Linked DNA regions of Homo sapiens: region 1 is linked to region 2. The links are contacts of gene promoters, found by promoter capture Hi-C in blood cells and fetal thymus (Javierre and others, 2016). All regions are on one chromosome and are shown on one strand. The core of a region is centred on a gene start or on the middle of the fragment in contact, and the rest is flanking DNA. Distances in the headings are between cores, read along the strand shown. Region 1 holds the start of JAGN1 (jagunal vesicle mediated transporter 1). Region 2 holds the start of THUMPD3 (THUMP domain 3 tRNA guanosine methyltransferase).

What was found. Contacts are between HindIII fragments. The CHiCAGO score rates a contact against its expected background, and 5 or more counts as called.
Region 1: the fragment with the promoter of JAGN1 here is called in contact with the fragment with the promoter of THUMPD3 in region 2 in 1 of 17 cell types (neutrophils); the score reaches 5.3 in neutrophils.

Annotation. Positions count from the first base shown.
Region 1 is chr3:9,888,823-9,892,426 of GRCh38, forward strand. It overlaps JAGN1 (jagunal vesicle mediated transporter 1), which reads left to right and starts at 1,788. Exons shown (of 2, transcript NM_032492.4): 1 at 1,788-1,989. The coding sequence starts at 1,901. The HindIII fragment of the contact is 18,772 bases long and covers 1-3,604 here.
Region 2 is chr3:9,361,513-9,364,983 of GRCh38, forward strand. THUMPD3 (THUMP domain 3 tRNA guanosine methyltransferase) reads left to right here and starts at 1,542. Exons shown (of 10, transcript NM_001114092.2): 1 at 1,542-1,615. It also overlaps a transcript of SRGAP3 not described here. RefSeq lists enhancers at 1,272-1,481, 1,702-1,761, 1,832-1,911, 1,932-1,991. The HindIII fragment of the contact is 4,632 bases long and covers 1-2,130 here.

The DNA of each region.
Region 1 (3,604 bases), core at 538-3,037, 530 kb after region 2:
GCACCACCATGCCAGTTAATATTATTTTATTTTTTATTTTTGTAGAGACGGGAGTCTCACTATGTTGCCCAGGCTGATCTCCTGCCTTGGCCTCCCAAAGTGCTGAGATTACAGGCTTGAGGCACTGTGCCCCCACCTAGACCTATCTTTTAAAAATGCAAAACTGTGTCATTTTCCTGGTTAAACCTTTTAGTGGTTCCCCAAACCCCCTGGGATAAAGACTTAACTCTTTACTGAACCCTCCAAATGCTCCAGTCACTCTTAAGTTTCTCAGTTCTTTGAAGAGCCAAGTGCTCTCTGGATTTGGGGCCTTCACACATGCTGTTCCCTCTGCCTGAAAAGCTCTTCCGCTCCCCACCTCTTTAGCCAATTCCCACTCAGGCTTCAGACCTCAGCTCAATTGCTGCCACTCCAGAGAGACTTTCCTAACCCTCCAGGTCAGGGAGAGAGGCCTCATTTTTCCTCCCTCAGCCTCCTGTGTTTTCTTGAATTTCTTAGCTTCATGGGTACAAGTTCTTCCCCCGACTGGGCTGGGATCCCTCAGGGGAAATGGACCATGTTTATTTCTGCGTCCCCAGGTCATAGCAGAGCATCCTGGTGCATGGAAGATGCTCACTATACATGCTTTTTTCTTTCTTTTTTTCTTTATTCGGATAATATAACTTCTTTCTTTAAAGTTTCGCTTAGTATTTTGTTGTGGTAAAATGCACATAACATAAAACTTACTATGTTAATCATTTTTAAGTGTACAGTTTCCGTGGCATTAAGCACACACATATAGTTGTGCAATCAGTACCACCATCCATCTCCAGAACTTTTTTCATCTTCCCGAACTGAAGCTCTGTACCCATTAAACACTAGCTCCCCATTCTCTGTCCACCCCTCGAGCTTCTGGCAATGGTCATTCTACTTTGTCTCTACAGATAAAGTTTATTTGGAAATAATTTTTCTTTCATGGCCTTGACATTTTTGAAGAGTACAGTCCAGCTCTCTTCTAGACTGTCCCTCCGTCTGGATTTATGTCATTTCTTCATGATTAGATTCAGTTAGGTATTTTTGGCAGAAACATCATAGAAGTGATGCTGTGTCCTCAGTCTATTAAAAGAGGCACAAGATATCAGTTTATCTCATTATTGATCAAATTAACTGACTATATGTTTAAGGGAGACAAGCCAGATTTCCTCACTGAGAGATTCCCTGTTTCTCTTTGCAATAATTAAATGTGAGAAACTTATTTTGAGACAAAGTCTCACTCTGCACTCTGTCCCCCAGGCTGGAGTGCATTGGCACAATCTCGACTTACTGCAACCTCTGCCTCCCTGGTTCAAGCGATTCTCCTGCCTCAGCCACCCAAGTAGCTGGGGTCACAGGAACCCACCACACCTGGCTAATTTTTGTATTTTTAGTAGAGACGGGATTTCACCATGTTGCCCAGGCTGGTCTTGAACTCCTGACATCAAGTGATCCACCCACCTCGGCCTCCCAAAGTGCTGGGATTAAAGGTGTGAGGCTGTGTGAATGATGTGTGCTCCAGGGAAAGTCATAGAATATATCAGTTTCCCCCTCTGTAAAGTGTGGACAGAAGTATCCTAACTGATATTACAGCTTAAGAAAGTAAAAGTGTTCAAGCGGCCTCTGGGCGCCAGCAAAAGAGGCTGGGGATTAATTTCCTGCGCGCTCCACAAGAGGCGGGGCTGGGCGGGGCGGGGGCGAGAGGGAACGAGGGCGCCTGCGCGGAGAGGAGTGACCATAGAGTCGGTCCTCCAGAGACAGAGGGGCCGGAAGTTCTCTTCACGGAGCCGCGCGGCTGCGGGGGCGCAAATAGGGTCAGTGGGCCGCTTGGCGGTGTCGTTGCGGTACCAGGTCCGCGTGAGGGGTTCGGGGGTTCTGGGCAGGCACAATGGCGTCTCGAGCAGGCCCGCGAGCGGCCGGCACCGACGGCAGCGACTTTCAGCACCGGGAGCGCGTCGCCATGCACTACCAGATGAGGTATGAAGTGAGGCGAGGAGCACGGAGGCTTTCTCCCCCGCTGGAGCCTGCGGGGCTTGGGGAGCGACGCCGGCCCGGCCTCAGGGTCTTGCTCCCCAGCCAGCCCCCGCTCACCTGCCAAGTCCCCTCCTCCCGTGACGGCTTCGGGCCTGTCCCCCATCCTGGAAAGCCCCGTGGCCCCCGCGAGCTCCACCCCTTGTTCCGCCCGGTGCCTTGAGGGGATCCAGCCCCGCGTGGGCTCCCGCCCTGCGTGGGCTCCCGAGTCACGTCGATGCTGGCCCCGCTGTATCACCTTCGAAACCGAATTTCTAATTTGAGCCTCAGCTTCCTCATCTGTAGAGGGAGAGAATAATCTGCCTTTTAGGTTTTGGTGAAAGATTAATCAGTAATTCGTGTAAAGAAAGTAGCATAAGGCCTACCACGTAATATATGGTAGGTGTTATATTTTGGGCCGTTTGGGGGGATATAGACAGTAAAAGGCAGCCTTTCCTAAGGACGCCTTGCCTAAAATGAATTTTATAAACACTCCCACGTAAGGGGTATTTCTACATTCAATTACTAGTTCGACAAATACTGAGCTTCCAAACATCATACACTGCTAGACACTAGGTTATAATAGTGAGCAAAAGCAGACGTGGTCTTTGTATACATGTTATACCTTCAATAAACAATTTTATTAAAGAAAAAAAAAACTGTTCCCTGCCTTCATGGAGCTTGAAGTCTAGAGATGACTGTTTTTTTTTTCCAACCTTTCCACATTTTCTACAATAAATATTTTTAAATAAAAATTTTAAAATTTTTACTTCCTTAAATCCATTGATCTCTCCCAGAATGTTCTTCACATCTCTCTCTCCAGAGTTTTAAAGAATGACAAGCTCTTTGAACTCTCATTTGTTTCACATCTCTAGGCCCCGGCTGAAAGGGCCCTCACAACTTAAGCAGGTGTTTTCATGCCAGCCCAGAGTAGAAACATTGCCTTTAGGGATATGAGGAGGATACGTTTGGGACGTGAGAGAATTAGAAGAATAAGATAAGTATGTACTTCTTTTGGATGAAAAAATCTAGCTGGAGAAGTATGGGCGGCCTGAGTACGTTTCCTCTCTGCCAATACCTTCTCCCGCCAGACTTTAATCCTATGGTGCAGTCAGCGTCCTCTTGCTAAACACAGCTCTGAGCTACCCTTCTGCCTTTATTATTATTATTAATTTATTTATTTATTTTTGAGACGGAGTCACGGTCTGTCGCCCAGGCTGGAGTGCAGTGGCGCGATCTCAGCTCACTTGTAAGCTCCGCCTCCCGGGTTCACGCCATTCTCAGCCTCAGCCTCCCGAGTAGCTGGGACTACAGGCGCCCGCCACCACGTGCTGCTAATTTTTTTGTATTTTTAGTAGAGACAGGGTTTCACCGTGTCAGCCAGGATGGTCTCGATCTCCTGACCTCGTGATCTGCCCGCCTCGGCCTCCCAAAGTGCTGGGATTACAGGCGTGAGCCACCGCGCCCAGCCCTGCCTTTTTATTAGTAGTATTGTTGTTGTTTTTTTTTTTTATGGAGATGGGGTCTCATTTTGTTGCCAGGCTGGTCTCGAACTCCTGGGCTCAAGCAGTCCTCCTGCTTC
Region 2 (3,471 bases), core at 292-2,791:
AAAATAAAAATAAAATTCTATGCCCCCCAACTGACTGAACAGGCCCTCTCTTGGCCAAGGAGACCCTAGAAAAAACTTGGAAGCTGAGTTCCTACTCATGACAGGATGGGAAGTCGGACACACCTCTTTATAACCCCTCCCTCTATAATCGCCATTAGATTTTCTTTCCTAAGGGTTAAACAGAAACCAGCCCTTTTGAAAGACTCACTCCACCAGCCTGATGCTGACCCTCCCATTTGCAGTTTCAATAGAACAACCGACTAGCATTCCTTCCTGATAAGAGATCACCCACCATCCAGGGAGTGGTTCTGGCCAGTCGACAGAGGACGTGCAGTGAGGGTTTTCACATCCCCTGCTTCACCTTTTGAAGTCAAGCGGTAGAAAACTCTACCCTTGGATCATGCTAAGGCCACCATTTTTTAAACATGGGATCCACAGAGAGGCATGAAGCTCAACTGCACATGCACAAATTGCTCCTTTCATAAATATTCGTGACCCCTCTTACAGTTTATTTAACATGTATATTTGGCCACTGTGTTTAGCATAAATCCCTGTCTTATTCTTCCAACCCTGGAAGTGCCTGTTTTTGGCTTCTGACTGGAAGCTAGGCTTCCCAGTCTGTCAAAATGGCTACCATGCAGGTTCAACTCTTTTTTTTTTTTTTTTTTTTTTTTTTTGAGATGATGTCTTGCTCCCAGACTGGAGTGCAGTGGCACAATCTTGGCTCTCTGCAACCTCTGCCTCCTGGGTAAGCAACTCTTCTGCTTCATCTTCCCAAGTAGCTAGGACTACAGGTGCAGGCCACCACATCCAGCTAACTTTTGTATTTTTAGTAGAGATGGAGTTTCACCATGTTGGCCAGCCTGGCCTCAAACTCCTGACCTCAAGTGATCCACCCGCCTCAGCCTCCCAAAGTGCTGGGATTACAGGCATGAGCCACTGTGCCCGGCCAGGTTCAACCCTTTATGAGAAATAAAGTTCATCTGATTGGGCACAGTGGCTCATGCCTGTAATCCCAGCACTTTAGGAGGGCTAGACAGAAGAATCACTTGAACCCAGATGTTCGAGACCAGCTTAGGCAACATAGTGAGCCCCACTATTTCTATTTTTTTTAAACTAAAGAAAAATATGAAGTAAACAGTGCTAAAATAGTGATGGCAATACAGAAATCAGGAACTAGTGGCATGACATTTTGAGAAAGATATTTAAATAAGCTGGAGAGACTCGGTGTCTCCAGCTTTAAAACAGAAATCAGTCTCTGCCACTTCATAGGTGCTAGAACAAAAGAGACTTGTTCCAAATGAGATGACGCATGTGAAGCGCTTACCCAGTGCTCGGCAAGGGGAAGCACTCTCTAAACGTTAGCAAATACCATGGTAGGACACAAGGCCCCTGACTCTCCGCTTTCAGCTTACTGAAGATCCTCAAAACCAACAGCACACAGCTTCCAGCGCATGCTCCTTTCCCCAAGACCTTGTGGGGGAACCCGCCGCCAGCGCGGAGCCACCGTGACTCGTAGCCTGACTTCCGTTTCCGGGGGCGGCTTCCGGCGGCGTGACCTGACCGCAAGAGGCCAATGGAGTGTGGGAGCTGAAAGGGTCTTCGCTGGCGGCCGGTAACTGGCGGCGGTTGGGAACGGCCGAGTGTGGCTCTTCTGGTGTTTCAGCTTGGGGAGAGAGGGGTGGCCTTCCTCTTGCAGTTGAGGCCGGCGCCGAGCCGGACTTCAGGCGGATCTCGTGGCGGAGCCCATCTTGCTCCCTCTCCCAGGCCTTTACCCGCTCCCTAGGATTCCCGGGCCCTGTAGGTGGGAGTTGGGAGACGTGAGTTCTCTTTCATTCTGCGCCTCTCATTGGCTCTCTGACCTTGTGCGGAACGCGTCCTTTAGCTGACCTCAGCTGCATTTTTTAGAAGATGGAGATTGTATTCACAGTGACTGTCAGCTTTTTAACGGCGGGAACTGACGTAGTGTTAAACACTGTCGTGTATCGCTGGCACAGCACAAGGACATTATAGGTATTCTGTACTCAATTAAGTTATTTTGAGTCACAGACCTTTTGAAAATCTCGTGTAAGCTATGGCCCCTCCACCTCTCTAATACTTCCCCCGGCCCCCACCCCAAGCACACACAAAAGCTTATGCATAGGAAATTTGTTTTACTATTTCGGATTACTTCCAAGATCTCTCTCCTGATGCCCATCTATGGATCCCAGAGTCTGGCAAGTAGTAGGCGTTTGAACATTTGTAATCATTAGATAGTAAGTATTCAGTTAACCATTTTTATTTTTAATTTTTTCTTTTTTTTTTTTTTTTTTTTTGAGACAGGGCCTCACTGTGTCACCCAGGCTGGAGTGCAGTCCTCCCACCTCAGCCTCCCAAGTAGCTGGACTCCAGGCGCCCACCACCACGCCCAGCTATTTTTTGTGTTTTTGGTAGAGATGAGATTTTGCCATCTTACGCAGATTGGTCTCGAACTCTTGGCCTCAAGCAATCTACTCACCTCAGCTCCCTAAAGTGCTGGGATTACAGGCATGAGCCAGTGTGCCCAGCCCAGTTAATCATTTTTAAATGCATGAAATGCTATTTCACAGGAGGGAAGAAGATAGATAGCCTATTAATAAGTTTTAATTATTGGCCTAACCAGGTACTACTCTCACTTGTCTCCTAACGACTCTAGGAAAGAGGTATTACTAATTACTTAATTACATTTGAAGGTTTGGGAGAATTAATTTGCCATAAGTCATTCAACCTATGATGGTGGAGGCAAGAATTCAAACCTGTATCTATCTGAAACTCCAAAAGCCCCATATTATTATTATTATTATTATTTATTTTATTTATTTATTTATTTTTTTGAGACAGAGTCTTGTTCTGTTACCCCAGCCGGAGTGCAGTGGCATGATCTCAGCTCACTGCAATCTCCACCTCCCGGATTCAAGCAATTCTCCTCCCTCAGCCTCCCAAGTAGCTGGGATTACAGGCTCCCACCACCACACCTGGCTAATGTTTGTATTTTTAGTAGAGACGGGGTTTCACCATGTGGGCCAGGCTGGTCTTGAACTCCTGACCTCAGGCAATCTGCCCGCCTCGGCCTCCCAAAGTGCTGGGATTACAGGTGTGAGCCACCACGCCCAGCCAAGCCCTATATTCTTAACTAACCATGTTCTTAACATCTAGATGCAGAAATGGATTTGAATGTGATCTGCAGTTTCTGTCGTAGTTATGAAATGGCTTTTGTCAACATGGGTTACCCCAAAGCAAACATTGCATGCTATGGAAATACTTCTTGTCTCTTTTTCTCCCATGGTATCTGTATTGCTTCTTTAATAATAACATCATGTTTTACAGCCTGCACTCTGTGCCCATGTTTATTCAACCCTTTTTACTTTGGTGACTGTTTATCAGATGTGTTGCCTTGTTCTTCCTGCCCTCCAGAGCCCATGTTTTTAATTATAACTGAAATATGAGATGATA